Regions from separate parts of the Homo sapiens genome. Here region 2 is linked to region 1. The links are contacts of gene promoters, found by promoter capture Hi-C in blood cells and fetal thymus (Javierre and others, 2016). All regions are on one chromosome and are shown on one strand. The core of a region is centred on a gene start or on the middle of the fragment in contact, and the rest is flanking DNA. Distances in the headings are between cores, read along the strand shown.

What was found. The method cuts DNA at HindIII sites, captures the fragments that hold promoters and counts their contacts. A CHiCAGO score of 5 or more calls a contact.
Region 2: a contact is called between a fragment that was not itself captured here and the fragment with the promoter of WDR73 in region 1, in 2 of 17 cell types (neutrophils and M2 macrophages). The highest score is 10.5, in neutrophils.

What each region holds. Positions count from the first base shown.
Region 1 is chr15:84,650,783-84,658,584 of GRCh38, forward strand. It overlaps WDR73 (WD repeat domain 73), which reads right to left and starts at 3,501. Exons shown (of 8, transcript NM_032856.5): 1 at 3,452-3,501; 2 at 2,850-2,917; 3 at 1,932-2,020. The coding sequence starts at 3,492. NMB (neuromedin B) reads right to left here and starts at 7,417. Exons shown (of 3, transcript NM_021077.4): 1 at 7,214-7,417; 2 at 6,394-6,566; 3 at 4,350-4,627. The coding sequence starts at 7,370. The coding sequence ends at 4,592. RefSeq lists enhancers at 2,854-3,821, 3,248-3,487 and a silencer at 7,373-7,532. The HindIII fragment of the contact is 10,475 bases long and covers 1-7,802 here.
Region 2 is chr15:84,707,764-84,715,565 of GRCh38, forward strand. The region is part of intron 1 of SEC11A (SEC11 homolog A, signal peptidase complex subunit); the gene reads right to left. Among named protein-coding and RNA genes, the nearest start is that of SEC11A, 4.5 kb to the right of the region's middle. The HindIII fragment of the contact is 4,390 bases long and covers 1-3,689 here.

The DNA of each region.
Region 1 (7,802 bases), core at 2,251-4,750:
GAGTCACCGCACTCGGATTGTTTCCTATTTCATTAAATAATTTAAAACAAAACAAAATAAAAAAGGCCAAGTGCGGTGGTTCACACCTGGAATCCCAGCACTTTGGGAGGCAGGAGGATTGCTTGAGCTCAGGAGTTTGAGAACAGCTTGGCAAGACCCCGTCCCTACCAAAAAATACAAAAATTAACCAGGTGTGGTGGCACATGCCTGTGGTCCCAACTACTCGGGATGCTGAAGTGGGAGGATGGCTTGAGCCCAGGAGGCAGAGGTTGCAGTGAGCTGAGATCGCGCCACTGCACTCCAGCCTAGGTGACAGAGTGAGACCTCAAAAAAAAAAAAAAATTTTTTTAAGAAGTTTGGGGCCAGGAGTGATGGCTCATGCCAGTAATCCCAGCACTTTGGGAGGCCGAAGCAGGCGGATCACTTGAAGCCAAGCGTTCGAGACCAGCCTGGCCAACACAGTGAAACCTCATCTCTACAAAAAAATTTAACAATTAGCCAAGCATGGTGGCACATGCCTGTAGTCCCAGCTACTTGGGAGGCTGAGGCGGGAGGATCACTTGAGCCTGGGAGGTTTAGACTGTAGTGAGCCAGGGATCGCGCCACTGCACTCCAGCCTGGGTGACAGAGCAAGCCCTTGTCTCAAAACAAAAAGGAATTCAGGAGCAAACACTCAAATTCCTGCCCCCACATGGCCCTTCAAGGTCATCTGCCTGCATGCCTCACTCCTCCCTTGTCCTCTGATGACTAATACCATCCCCTGGACTCCTGATCTATCCTCACCTTCTATTCCTGGAAGCAGGAGCGTGTTCCCTGTGATATTCCCTCATTTTCACCCTCTCCCTCTTCAAGGGTTACTTTCCCATAGCTTCTAACTCTGCTCAAGCCTCTGTGTTTAGGAAACCTTCCCTCAGATCTGTGTTTCCGACTAGTTGCTGCTTTAGCTTCTTCCCTCCCTACATTTCGTGACTCTGCTTCCTCTTCATTTTTAGTCTTTGGGCCTGACCACCACCAGCAAAAATCCTGTAGCAGAGGTCACCAAGAGTTTCCCAATTGCCAGTCTTATGAATGAACTCAATTCCTCATCTGAATGATTTTTTTTTTTGAGATGCAGTCTTGCTGTTGCCCAGGCTGGAGTGCAGTGGCACGATCTCAGCTCACTACAACCTCCGCCTCCCGGGTTCAAGCAATTCTCCTGCCTCAGCCTCCTGAGTAGCTGGGATTACAGGTGTGCGCCACCATGCCTGGCTAATTTTTGTATTTTTAGTAGAGACGGGGTTTCACCATGTTGGTCAGGATGGTCCCGAACTCCTGACCTCATGATCCGCCCAACTCGGCCTCCCAAAGTGCTGGGATTACAGGCGTAAGCCACTGCACCTGGCCTTCAATTCTTCTCTCAATGATTTTATTGGAACTCTAGACAGCTACTAACTCTTTTTTTCTTGAGAAGTTCTCTTCTCTTGGCTTCAGAAACATTGACCTTTTCTGAGATTCCTCTTACCTCAGAGGCTGTTCTTTCTTAGTATTCTTTGGGGAGGGGGGGTGCATCTTCCTGTACTCATCCCTTAAATGTGTTCCCTGAGGTTCCGTCCTCACTATATTCTCCTCACTCCTTATATACCACACATTCACTAGGTGACTTTAATCACTCTACGCATTTCGACCGCCCTCTATATCCTTAATCGCTCCCTAAATCTATTTCTGATAAAGTATAACTGACCTCCTCCTCTGATAGCCCTCTGTAAACCACGAGACATTCTACAGCATTTATCTCTGTGCATATGTGCCTCCCTCTGTTAGACTAGAAGGGCAGGCCTAGCGCTTTCTCTCTTTCTAGTATCCAGGACAATACCTGGTAGATAACAGGAGCTCCACAAATGTTTAATAAATAAATAAAAGTTGACATACTCAGCATTTATATTTTAAGTTACCTTGTTTTCCTTTACAGAAAGTCTGAGAGGTAATTTCAGATGAAGAATTTCATTCTTTTTCAGGCTTTCATAGCCAGCAACAAAGACTCCTGGAAAAAGAAGCAGAGGTAGCTGTCACAAATTGTTAGAAAGATTGCAGACCATGCAATCCCCCGAAGTAAGGATACATTCCTTCACTGTGCAGCCTTGTATGGAGGAATTGAGTACCTGGTTGTGTCTTTTTCAGACAAGGTCTCGCTGTGTCAGCCAGGCTGGAGTGCAGTGGTCCGATCACAGCTCACTGCAGCCTCAACCTGCCAGGCTCAAGTGATCCTCCCACCACAGCCTTCAGAGTAGCTGGGATTATAGGCGTGAGCCACCATGCTCGGCTAATTTTTGTATTTTTTGTAGAGACAGGGTTTCCTTGCTTAGGTTAGTCTCAAATTCCTGGGATCAAGCAATCTGCCCGCTGCCTCAGCCTCCTGAAGTGCCCAGCCTGAAGACTTTTTTTGTTAGCCACGCTGGAATACAGTGTCGTGATCTCAGCTCACTGCAACCTCCACCTCCTGGGTTCAAGTGATTCTCCTGCCTCAGCCTCCCCAGTAGCTGCTGGTACACAGGTGTGCACCACCTCGTCCGGCTAATTTTTGTATTTTCAGTAGAGACGGGGTTTCACCATGTTGGCCAGACTGGTCTCGAACTCCTGACCTCAGGTGATCCGCCTGCCTCGGCCTCCCAAAGTGCTGGGATTACAGGCGTGAACCACTGCTCCCGGTCAGAGATCTTAATAAGAGGAATATTAGTGCTGATGGGGCATCAAATTGCTACAAGTGACTCTCAGGTGCCCAGAAGAGTGGGTTGGGTCCCTCTAGGCTTAGCTCCTGAAACCCAGCTCAGGAGTGAGATTCCCTCTCCTTCAGGGCTAGAAAGGTATACCACCTTTGTCATCAATCCATTCAAGGACTCGAGTGGCTCCTGACAGGTCGAATGCATAGAAATCCTGGTACCTGCACAAAAGGGACACAGAATCACACGATGCACAGCACTTCACAGCTCAAAGAACTCCAAGATGGCAGCCGCATGGTTCAGTGGCCCAAACTCTGGAGTCAGGCAGACGTGGGACTGAGTTTACTTCCCATTTTACTCCCTGTTTCTGGGACCAGGCCAGTCCCTTGATGTCCCTGAGCCTCGGTCCTCATGTGTGGACGTCCCAGGGTACCCAGATTTCCCAAGGTTGACGTGAGGAATCAATGAGATCATCTGTGTTCTGAGCTGAACTCAGAGGCTGGCGCAAACTAACTGGGCACTGCGTCTTCACAAGCGCGGCTCTTACTAGTAATCTCACAACGCGCGCACGCAGGAAGGAGCCATTTCCTAGAGATGGGGGCCTAGGCCCAGGCGGAGTCCTCCACGGTGGCGAGCCCCGAGGCCACAGCTGGCCCACTCTGCACCAGGATCCCCAACGTGCCTCCACCCACACCCATCCGCCCGCCAGGCAAGCTCCAGGCCCAGCTCCCATGTCCCAGCCCCGTACGATTTACAAGCGCAAGGATTCCACCAGCCAGTCGTCCCCAGGATCCATGGCAACGACCGCTTCCGGCGTCTCACTTCCGCCTGCGAGCCTTCGGGGGCCGCGCGGCTCTCGCGAGATGTGGGCAGGGCCTCCCGTTAGGGGCGGGGTTAACAGGCTGAGCTGCGGCCCGGCATGGGTGGGTTACGGGTTTTCTCCGCGAAAGCTCCGGGAAAAGTGACCTGAAATCGGGACTTTCCCGCTGTCAGCTCCAAGCAGGACCTGAGGACCAAATGATCGCCCGTTTTAGGGCCAGGTGTTTGCAGCCCAAGAGAGGGGCAATGAATGCTCCAAGGCCAGAAATAATACAGGACCGCCCGGTTAAATTCGAATTTCAGAAAAACGGTGAATAATTTCTTTCTTACGAGTATGTTCATGCAATATTTGGTACATTTTATTAGATAAAATTATTGTTTATCTGAAATTCGAATTTAACTGGGTGTCCAGTATTTTTATTTGCTAACGCTGGCAACCCTTCTGACGGCCAGAGAAGAGAGGAAGCGGCCGGCAGGGTCTGGATCCCAACTCGGCGCTCCCCTCCAAGTCCGGCGGGGGTATTGAGTAAAGCCCGGCAGTGTAGTGTCTGCAGCCCCCTTTTACTAGCGAGGAAACTAGTGACACTTGCCTGCGCCAGTAGGTGGCAGAGATGAGAGTAGAACCCCGCGCCTGGCACGAAGCCTGGCATGCAACAGGCGTTATTTGCTTGCTGAATGAATGGGTAGGAGGCCAGAGTCAGTGCCAGGCTGGTGCCATGGCATGGGGTATTCTGGACTTTTTGAGCCAGCCCCATCTCACTGAACACTCTGCCCTCCAGCCCCCTTTTCCTCCCATCCCCTAAAAGACGGGTGAAAGGAGAGGACCAGGCATTGTATGTAAAGAGCAAGGTTTTATTCACCAATTCAACAGGGAAGCAGGAAATACAGCAGGAACATAATCTGTGTCTGCATCAGCGATATTTCTGGTGACCCAGCCAGAAATCACAGTAATGGAGTAACAGAGATTTGAGCTCAGGATTTACATCCAGATGGGGCCATCAACAGGGTCCCATTCAGCACCTTCCCTGGGTGGGCACAATCTAAGCCACGCTGTTGTGTCTGCCCCATTATTGGTGTCATTTCTGCAGTATTTGTACCAGCAGCCTCCTGTACTGAAGAGAAACATACAGAAGAATTGAGCCAGGGAGGGGCTCCTGATAAAGATAGGGGCATCCTGCCATTCCTAAGTGCCAGATGTCTGCAGAGGTGGGCACCAGCAGGCTGTCAGCTGAGGCAGGCCCCAGAGCACCCTGAATTGCCTTGGAGGGGTCGGGGCAGTAGTTTTCTCAGAACACAGCCCCAACCACCCAGGGTGGTCATGACAGTCAAAGAAGATCGTGGAAGAAAATCCAAATACAGTGCTTGGTGCTGGGCTAGTGTCAGCGTCCTCACTCCCCCACCCCAGCTCTGCCCCAGACCTCACTCTGAAGCCCCAGACGTAGGCACTGCTGCTTCTGAGATTCTCTAGTTGGTCTGCATGTGTCAGAGCTTCAAAACCAAGGGCATTAGAGGTGACATTGTTTCCCTTCAGACTCAGCCAGCCCAAGCTCCTAGGCCTTACATCTGAGGTCCTCAGGGGCTGCTGGTTCTGTGCCTCAGGAAGTCAGGGATGTTGGTTGAGGCTGGGTTGGACCTTTTCTAGGGAATGCCTCTCCCTTCAAAATGCACACACTATATGCTAGGCACACTGGGGGATATGAAGGCGAGTCTACAACAGGTGCCGCCAGGGAGCTCACAGACTGATAAGAGCTCGCATCTACTAAGGGCTGTCTATGAGCCAGGCACCATGCTGAGCATTTGACATAAATGGTCTCATTTAATGGGAGATGGGCCTTATTATCTTCATTTTATGGGTGAAGAATATTGAGGCTTTAGAGAAGTTAAGGGACATTTCTAAGGTCATACAGCTACTAAGTAGCTAGGTTATGAGCCCAGCACGTTGTAGTCAAAACCCACATTCTACCACATCACACTGCCTTCTGCACACAGCAGCAGGACCAGGGAGGGTGGTGTGCAGTAAGGACAGCACCAGGAGCAGGGAATGAAGGAGTTGCCACTCAGCGGGGCTATACCTTGAGGCTAGCTTGGCTCCAGCTTTGGAGTCTTGAATCCCATAGATCAGTGACTGACAACCAATAATGATTTGGGGCCCTCTCCCCCAGCAGACATCTGGTGATGTCTGGAGGTCTTTTCAGTTGTCACAACTTGATGGGGGGGAAAGATGCTACTGGCATCTAGTATGTAGAGACCAGGGATGCTGCCAAACATCCCATGATGCACACGTCAGCCCTCACAAGAAACAGTGATTCAGCCTAGAACGTCAAATGTACTGAAGTTGCTAAACCCTACCACTGGATACTGAGGCAGATGAGAGAATGGGAAGAGCTCCAGTCCAGGTGAACAAGGTCCAGACTCTGTCTTGGCTGCTGACTTCTCTTTCCCTCTCTGGGCCTCAGGGTCCCATTCCGGCCACAAGCATACACAGGACACAGCAAAGGTGGACTTGACTAATGCAGCAGGGAACAGCATGGGTGGGACAAGACTGTGTAGACTGGGGGAGAAAGGTCCTGCTCCAAAAGGCTGATGATCCCAGTCTGTTACTTTAGACTGGGTGATGAGTCAGGGGAACTTCTTTCCCTACTTCTTGCCCCATGGGGTCTACTGGGAAGGTCAGCTTCCTTTCTTTGGACTGTTCCTCCTTTGAGCTCTGCCTCAAGAGGGAAAAGCCTGGAAACCTGGCTTTCTGGGGTCCACACCCATAATGTCCTAGTCAGACAGTCACACCCTAATACAGTACTGGGTGGTAATTCCTCCCATGCAGGATCCGGGGATGGCCCCAGCTGGGCCCTCCTGACATTGGAGCAGGGGCCCGGCTCACCTGGATTTGGGGTGCGGGGCGGCTGAGGCTCACGCCCAGAGCCTTCTTTAGCAGGAGGATTCCGAGCAGATCATGACTCAGCTGCAGTCGCTGGTCCCTCAGGGAGGTGTGGGGAGCTGTCCCCAATGGGGATGGGCTGGAAGGCTCCAGACTCTTCTTGCCCATGAAGTGACCTGGAAAGGAGGTGTCCAGGCACAAGGAAGTCAAGCAGCCAGGATCCTACCTCAGAGGAAAAGTTCCTCATCTCTCCCACGTTTCCGTTCTTGTAGCGGGAAGACACTTAACCTTCCTCCTCTTGGTGCTTCCACCTCACCAAGGAGCCACAAAGGTGTCTGGGTGGTGGCAAAGCCTGCTCCCTCAGCTTTTCCTGAACAGGTAGAGAGGATGGCACAGCTGGCAGGAAGGTGGGATGGTCCAGGGCCAGGGAGAAACTCTGCTAGTTGTGTGGGCTGCTTGGACAAGGGACGAAAAAGGGCAGGGTAGGAAGTGGAGAGTGAAGAGGCGCCTGGAAAGTGGAGGTGCAGCAAAAACACACCAGCGGTTAGAAGATTCGGTTAAGTCTCGCCTAAGGTAAGGGGCACCGGCTGGCAGTGGGATTTAGGATCTAGCCCAGCCCTGTCTTAAACTGGCTGCGCGACCTTAGCCAAGTCACTGACCTGTCCGGGTCTCAAGTACATATCTATTAAATTAGATGAGCCCCAGGGTTTTCCACCTGCTCCGACACTAGTGTCCGTGGCTGAGGAGCGGCCAGAGGGTTGAGAAGGAAATGGGGTCTGAACTGGATGAGGGGCGCTTGCTTGCTCCGTCCCCAAAGACTTACCGGTGGCCCAGAGGTTGCCTCGCGAGTGCACTCGGATCTTGCTGGCTCGGCTGCGGGGCTCCGGGAGATCCCAGCTGAGCGGGGCGACGCCGGCAGCGAGCAGGGCGAAGAGCAGGAGGCTGCCGAACATCCGAGCGCCCCCCGCCCGCCGGGCCATGGCTGTGCCCGGGCCGCGGCTTCGTTCGGGCGCGCTTCCCGGCCGCTGGGCTCCGGGGCTGCCTTCGATCCTTTTAAATCCGCGCCCCTGGGGGCGGAGCCTGCCCTGAGCAGCGGAGCCGTGCCCCGCGCCCGCCGCCCTCCCCGCCGTCCCCACCCTCCCGCTAGGTTACCAGGCAGGGGCACCCCCTTTGGGCCGCCCAGAGACCTGCACACCCACACTCTGGCCCGCACGCGGGCACCGCTTCCGCCAGGGGCTTCTGGCGGAAGCCCGCCACCTTCAGGCTAAGGACCGGGCACCGGCCAAACAGGGGCCCGGCCCCGGCGGCGGAGCCGCTTCCCCTGGCCCTGCCTTGCCACTCTGCCACGGCTTTCGGCCAAATAGGCACTTCAGCCCTCTGAGCCTCTCTTCATGAGGGTAGAGGTCGGGCGA
Region 2 (7,802 bases), core at 245-2,744, 55 kb after region 1:
CTTTACGTCATTTGTGGAGAGAATGTTATAAAAAAAATAACAGATGTAAAATATCAAGGAATGGTAGCAAGAAAATATCTTTGTTACTATGGTACTATATTCTGGATTTTGCTCAGTTACATGGAATAAAGAATAATTTCTGGCTGTTCAAAAGAATATACCAGCCGGGCATAGTGGCTCACATCTGTAATCCCAGCACTTTGGGAGGCCAAGGCTGGTGAATCACTTGAGGTCAGGAGTTCAAGACCAGCCTGGCCAACATGGTGAAACCCCGTCTTTACTAAAAAAATACAAAAAATTAGCCAGGCGTGGTGGCACACGCCTGTAATCCCAGTTAATCAGGAGACTGAGGCAAGATAATTGCTTGAACCCAGGAGGCAGAGGTTGCAGTGAGATGGCACCACTGCACTTCAGCCTGGGTGACAGAGTGAGGCTCTGTCTCAAAAAAAAAAAAAAAAAAAAAAAAAAGAATATACCTGTTGATGTTAATTGCAGTTTACAATAAAATTTTACTTGTGATGTTCTTGTGTATGTAATGGGGACTGATATCAATATTTCTACATTGAAACTTGGCAATTCATTAATAAATGTTGATACCCTGCCAGTAATAAAGATTTTCCTGAACCTAAATAAGACCAGATTACTTTTCCATAATCAAAAAAAGTAGTGGCTTTATCCTCTGTGTTGGATACACCTCCTATTTGCTTCACATTTATTCCTATTAGGTCTATATCTAAGAAAAATTTCCTAGGTTTCTGTATGTTTCACTAGAGCGACAACTCGTTTAAAAAAAAAAGTATCAAAGATACCTAGGCAACAGGGCGAAATCTCAACTCTACAAAAAATACAAAAATTAACCAGGTATGAAATGGAGTCTCACTATGGTACCTGGTGTACACCTGTAGTCCCAGCTACTTGGGAGGCTGAGGTGGGGGGATAGCTTGGACCCAGGAGGTTGAGACTGCAGTGAGCTGTAATCGCATCACTGGACTCCAGCCTAGGTGACAGAGCGAGACCTTATCTCAGGAAAAAAAAAATGAAAAGAAAAGAAAAAGCTATCTAGAAATCGTTAAGATATCACTGCAATAACAGTTAAGAGTTGGGTGATACTAAGAGATAGGAAGATATAAAAAGAATGAAGGATCCTATTAAGTCTCAAGGACTTTACATTTAGGCAGGAAGGCATACAGATAATTAAAACCCAGAGAAATGCAAATTCAATCAAGCAATATAAGTGGCCTGCGGGGAGCTAAGCACACATTTATGGGAGTCTGCTTAGTCCCTTCAGGGCTCAGACAGGGATCTAGTCACATCCTGGCCAATAAAAAAAATCTCAGCAAGCAGAGAAGTCAATTCTAAAAATTACATGTGACATACATGTAACATAAAAATAATTTGGCATAACATACTTATTTTATTAGTGAGTAAATATCTTTTTTTTTTGTTTTAAGAGATGGGGCCTCACTATGTTGACCAGGCTAGACTTGAACTCCTTGGGCTCAAGCAATCATCCTGCCTCAGCCTCCCTGAGCAGCTGGTACTACAGGTGCACCACCGCACCTAGCTATCATTTTTATCCCCAGAATGATTTATAATTAAAAATAGAATGTTTAAGGGAAAGCGTGCATAGTGTTAATATTCTTATGTTAAGAACTCTGTTTGTATTTGTTTTTGTTTTTGGTATTGTTTTGTTTTTTGAGATGGAGTCTCGCTCTGTCACCCAGACTGGAGTGCAGTGGTGTGATCTTGGCTCACTACGACCACCGTCTCCTGGGTTCAAGCGATTCTTCTGCCTCAGCCTCCCAAGTAGCTGGGATTACAGGTGCACACCACCACACCCCACTAATTTTTTTATTTTTAGTAGAGACGGGGCTTCACTACGTTGGCCAGGCTGGTTTCGAACTCCTGACCTCAAGTGATCTGCCGGCCTCAGCCTCCCAAAGTGCTGGGATTACAAGCGTGAGCCACTGCACCTGGCCTCTTCTGTTCATTTTTTTGAGACAGGGTCTCACACTGTCACCCAGGCTGGAGTGCAGTGGCACAATCTTGATTCACTGCAACCTCCGCCTTCCAGGTTCAAGTGATTCTTGTGCCTCAGCCACCTGAGTAGCTGGGATTACAGGCGTGTGCCACCACACCTGGCTAATTTTTGTATTTTTAGTAGAAATGGGGTTTCGCTATGTTGCCCAGACTGGTCTCAAACTCCTGGGCTCAAGCGATTCATCCATCTCGGCCTCCACCATTACAGGCGTGAGCCACTGCACCCAGCTATATTTGGTATTTTAACTTTTGTAAAATTTAAGAGAATTTGGCCTAGTGAAGTAATAAGTCAGCCTTAAAAATTCAGTTTAAAATGTGTAATCAGTTGTTTTAGATTATGTGAATCAGAAAGTTTCCTATTTATATACAGTGCTGAAACATTTTAAGAGAACTTAAGAAGTCTCAGATCTATAAAAATTATATAAGTAGTCCATGTTTGTTGAATAATCAAAGTTCTTTAAAATATTTTTTTAATTTATAAAGTTTAATTATTTTAAGATGTTTAACTTTGAAATTAAACCAAACATAGGCTCTTAAAGGTGATTGTTGGCTGAGTGCAGTGGCTCACACCTGTAATCCCAACACTTTGGGAGGCCAAGGCAGGCGGATCACTTGAGGTCAGGAGTTCGAGACCAGCCTGGTCAACATGGTGAAACCTCGTCTCTACTAAAAAAAATACAAAAATTAGCCGGGAGTGGTGGTGCACGCCTATAATCCCAGCTACTCTGGAGGCTGTGGCAGGGGAATTGTGTGAACCTAGGAGGCAGAGGTTGCAGTTGAGCCTAGATGGTGCCACCACACTCCAGCCTGGGCGACAGAGCAAGATTCTGTCTCAAATAAAAAAGTGATTGTTAAAATTTGCTACACTTTAAATAGGATAAGATTTGTAAACAAATTCTACAAGTTTAAGAAAGAATTTAGTTTTAAAATTTTAGGTTTTATAATTATTAGAACTAAAGATAACTCTAAATAGGTTTTTCTGCACACAAAAACCACCTCAATGTGCATTGAAAAACACACATATCTTTGGGAGGCCGAGGTGGGCAGATCACGAGGTCAGGAGATCAAGACCATCCTGGCTAACACAGTGAAACCCCGTCTCTACTAAAAATACAAAAAATTAGCGTGTGATCACACGCACCTATAGTCCCAGCTACTTGGGAAGCTGAGGCAGGAGAATCGCTTGAACCCGGGGGGCGGAGGTTCTAGTGAGCCGAGGTCGAGCCATTGCACTCTAGCCTGCAAAACAGAGCAAGACTCCATCTCAAAAAAAAAAAAAAATGCTCATATTAAGGCTGGGCGCAGTGACTCACACCTATATTCAATCCCAGCTCTTTGGGAGGCTGAGGTGGGCAGATGGCTGAGCTCAGGGGTTCACAACCAGCCTGGGCAACCTGGTGAAACCCAGACTCTACAAAAAACACAAAAATTAGCCAGGTGTGGTGTCACTGGCCCGTAGTCCCAGCTACTCCAGAGGCTGAGGTGGGAGAATCACTTGATCCCGGAAGGAGGAGGTTGCAGGGAGCCAAGATCCTGCCGCTGTACTCCAGCCTGGTCAACAGAGTGAGACCCTGTCTCAAAACAAACAAACAAACAAAAATTAAAAAAAAAAACAAACCTCTCATACTAATCAGTGGTGTGCTGGAACAAGCTTCCTAAATTTTCAGCAATTCTGCAAGCTGGTTGTTAAACACAGTGCTGTTAAAAAACTAGAATAATAAATTATATTAAAGGCCAGGCACAGTGGCTCATGCCTGTAACCCCAGCACTTTAGCAGCCTGAGGCGATCAGATCACTTGAGGTCAGGAGTTCAAGACAAGCCTGGCCAACATGGTGAAACCCCCATCTCTACTAAAAATACAAAAATTAGCCAGACGTGGTGGCGCACACCTGTAATCCCAGCTACTTGGTTGCGGTGAGCCGAGATCACGTCACTGCATTCCAGCCTGGGTGACAGAATAGAGCGAGACTCTATCTCAAAAAAAAAAAAAAAAAAAAGAAGCCGTACTCCAAACAAAGGTAAGAATACAAATAAAATAGTATATGACTATTAGCTAAAAGGACCTTAAAGATCACCTAATATTCTAGGGTGGTACCCAGAGACTAAGAAAGAATACAAGCAGCACTGTTAAAAATCAATTAATTTAAACAACTTGGCTGGGTGTGGTGGCTCACATCTGTAATTCCAGCAGTTTGAGGATCCGAGGTGGGAGGATCACTCGAGCCCAGGAATTTGAGACCAGCTTGGGCAGAATAGCGAGACTCCATCTCTACAAAAAATACAAAAATTAGCCAGGCATGGTGGCACACATCCATAGTCCCAACTACTCAGGAGGCTAAGGTGGGAGGATTGCCTGAGCCCCAGGAGTTCAAGGCTGCAGTAAGCTGTGATTATGCTACTGCACTCCAGCCTGGGCAACAGAGAGAGACCTTGTCTTAAAAAAAAAAAAATTCTAAGAAACCCAACATACCTCTACCTCTATTACAAAGCCCAGAATCCAGTACACTGACAACATGAAATACTGGGGAGGATGTGGAGCAACAGGAACTCTCATTCATTGCTGGTGAAAGGCAAAACAGTACAGCCATTCTGAAAGTGTTTTATGGTTTCTTACAAAACTGAAACATACTCTTTTCTTTTTTTTCTTTTTTTTTTTTTTTTGAGATAGAGCCTTGCTCTGTCGCCCAGGCTGGAGTGCAGTGGTGCGATCTGGGCTCACTGCAACCTCTGCCTCCCAGGTTGAAGCAATTCTCCTGCCTCAGCCTCCTGAGTAGCTGGGATTACAGGTGCGCACCACCATGCTCGGCTAATTTTTGTATTTTTAGTAGAGACAGGGTTTCACCATGTTGGCCAGGCTGGTCTTGAACTCCTGAGCTCAGGCAATCCACCTGCTCGGCCTCCCAAAGTGCTGGATTACAGGCATGAGCCACTGCGTCCAGCCTAAAAACTGATTAAAACTCCAAAGAATACATACTCTATGATTCCATTTATATAAAATGCATACCCCTCTATACTGACAAAAAGCACATTAGAGGTGGGACAGAACGGGTCTTGTAGGTGATATATACGTTCTATATCTTGATTGTGATCAGTATACGTAAGTATAAAAACTTATCGGCCGGCCGGGAGCAGTGGCTCACGCCTGTAATCCTAGCATTTTGGAAGGCCGAGGCAGGCGGATCACAAGGTCAGGAGATCAAGACCATGGTGAAACCCTGTCTCTACTAAAAATACAAAAAATTAGCCGGGTGTGGTGGCGGGTGCCTGTAGTCCCAGCTACTTGGGAGGCTGAGGCAGGAGAATGGCGTGAACCTGGGAGGTGGAGCTTGCAGTGAGTCAAGATTGCACTACTGCACTCCAGCCTGGGCAACAGAGTGAGACTCCGTCTCAAAAAAAAAAAAAAAACACTTATCAAATGGTACACTTTAAATGGATGGAGTTCATTTACTAAAGTATTCCTCTGTGGATCTGATAAGAAAAAAAAAACAAAAACTCAAAGCAATCAGACATTTAACATATATGTAATATGTAATTAGGTATAAGCAGAGAAGTTATGCAAATAATAGCAACTTTTAGAGGAATAAAACAAAATTCTAGTTTCCCTCTTTCGTCTGATTCTCAGTATCTACATGTATTGTCAATTCTTCCTCCTAGATATTATGTACAGATAAAGATCTCATTTCATAACTCTCCCTCACCCCATGTTATCCAATCCCTCCTATCCATTCCTAACAACCTCTGGGAGGCCAGGGAGGATAATTTTACCATTTAAACTTCCACTAACCCTGAATGTCCTAGATGCAATGAATTCTGAACCACAATCACTCCATATTAGAGAAACACAGGGCAGAGTAGCCTATTCATTGTATCTTCATGTTTCTGTTCTTTCTTCCTGTCCATTTTATTAGAGCAGGAAGAGTACCTTATATATCTCTATGCTTTAGAGCCTATCTAGCAGGTTTGCAAGTGCTGAGTGAATTCCTTCCCTTTTGATTATTGGAATGCTAACCAACCCAGGTTAAAGATGAAGCTATTAAGGTCTTTCAAGATCCAACTTAAATGCTAGTTTCTCCTTGAAGCTGTTCGTAATGCCCTGACTGGAACCTCTCAAAATTTTCCTACCACTGCTAGAACAGGTCATATCCTTCTTTATCCAAGTGTTCAGGCTTTAAAGTAAGACCTGAGATCAAATCCACATCCTGCCATATACCTTCTTTTTTTTTTTTTTTTTTTTTTGAGACGGAGTCTCACTCTGTCACCAGGCTGGAGTGCGGTGGCACGATCTCAGCTCACTGCAATCTCCACCTCCCAGGCGATTCCCCTGCCTCAGCCTCCTGAGTAGCTGGAACTACAGGCGTGCGCCAACAGGCCCAGCTAGTATCTGTATTTTTAGTAGAGAGGGGGTTTCACCATGTTGGCCAGGATGGTCTCAATCTCTTGACATTGTGATCCGCCTGCCTCAGCCTCCCAAAGTGCTGGGATTACAGGCGTGAGCCACCGCACCCAGTCTACCTTCTGTCTTAAGCAAATCACTAAAGCTCTCTAACAATGACATCGACCACAGTACAGCCAATACTCACCATGTGCCAGACACTCTTCTGAGGGCTTTATATGAATTAACTCATTTAATCTTCATAGCGACCCTACGTTTGCACAACATAGTGAATGCAACTAATGTCAGTGAAGTATACACGTAAAAACGGTTGAAATGGAATATTTTATGTTGCATATCTTTTTACAACAATAAAAGTAAACATAGGCACAGACAGGTTAAGTAATCTGCTCAAAGTCACACAGCCAGTAAGTAGCAGAGCTACTTCAAACCTCTGAAATCTAGCTTTAGAGTCCATATTCTTAACTTCTATACTGTATTGCTTCTCACAAAGTCTCATTTTCTTCATGTTTAATAAGAACAACGTTACCTACCTTACAGGTGTATAAAGTGCTTCACACATGGCAAGAGCTCAAAAAAGTTATTGTTTTGCCTTAGTCCTTTTCTACACATTTAGGCTCCTTGAAGGCCGAGTCTTTCTTAACTATCTTTGCATTTCTCTCATTGTACCTAGCATAGAGTACAATAAATATCAGACTCAAAATAAATACTTTCCTCAGAGAAATATCTGTGGCATCTAGAAATCCAAATATGGATTAAAAAAAGACAACACTATACAAGTAAAAATTTGAAGTGTTGTCATAAAGACATAAAGTAACGTTTGCGCAATTTTTATAGAATGCTCAATTCTGACTGACAGAATTGACACTGAGCTAGCTAAGGCCTGAAGGGGAGTAAGGAAAGGTTGTGTATCTACTTCCCTAAGTGGCAGTTATAAGTACAAAAAATGCAAGTCCAAGGAAAAAAAATCCTTAATGGTGACATCAGGATAATCATAACAGTAAAATACTGTTTAAAACAAAAAAAAAGTCCGATGCAGCAAAACTAGGCTCTACAGACACACTAGGCGCAAAAGATAAAACAGAACAACCTTTTCTAAGGACTAAATAATTACAACAATATTCTCAGTACTATTTGGCATACGATCTAGAAGATCAAAGTAAAGTGTAAGGACAAAATCAGGAGACCTACATTTCCAGATCCCCGTGGCACTGATATTGGACTGTAAAACCATAGATTCCGAGGGCTGCCGCCTTAGTGCTAAGCGGACGCAAGGGCAAGTAGTGTAACTGTTCCAACTCGGAGCCCAGAGTGGTCCAAGTCAAAGTCGGTGCAGCCCGCTACGGTTCAGCTCTACTAAAGGGTTGC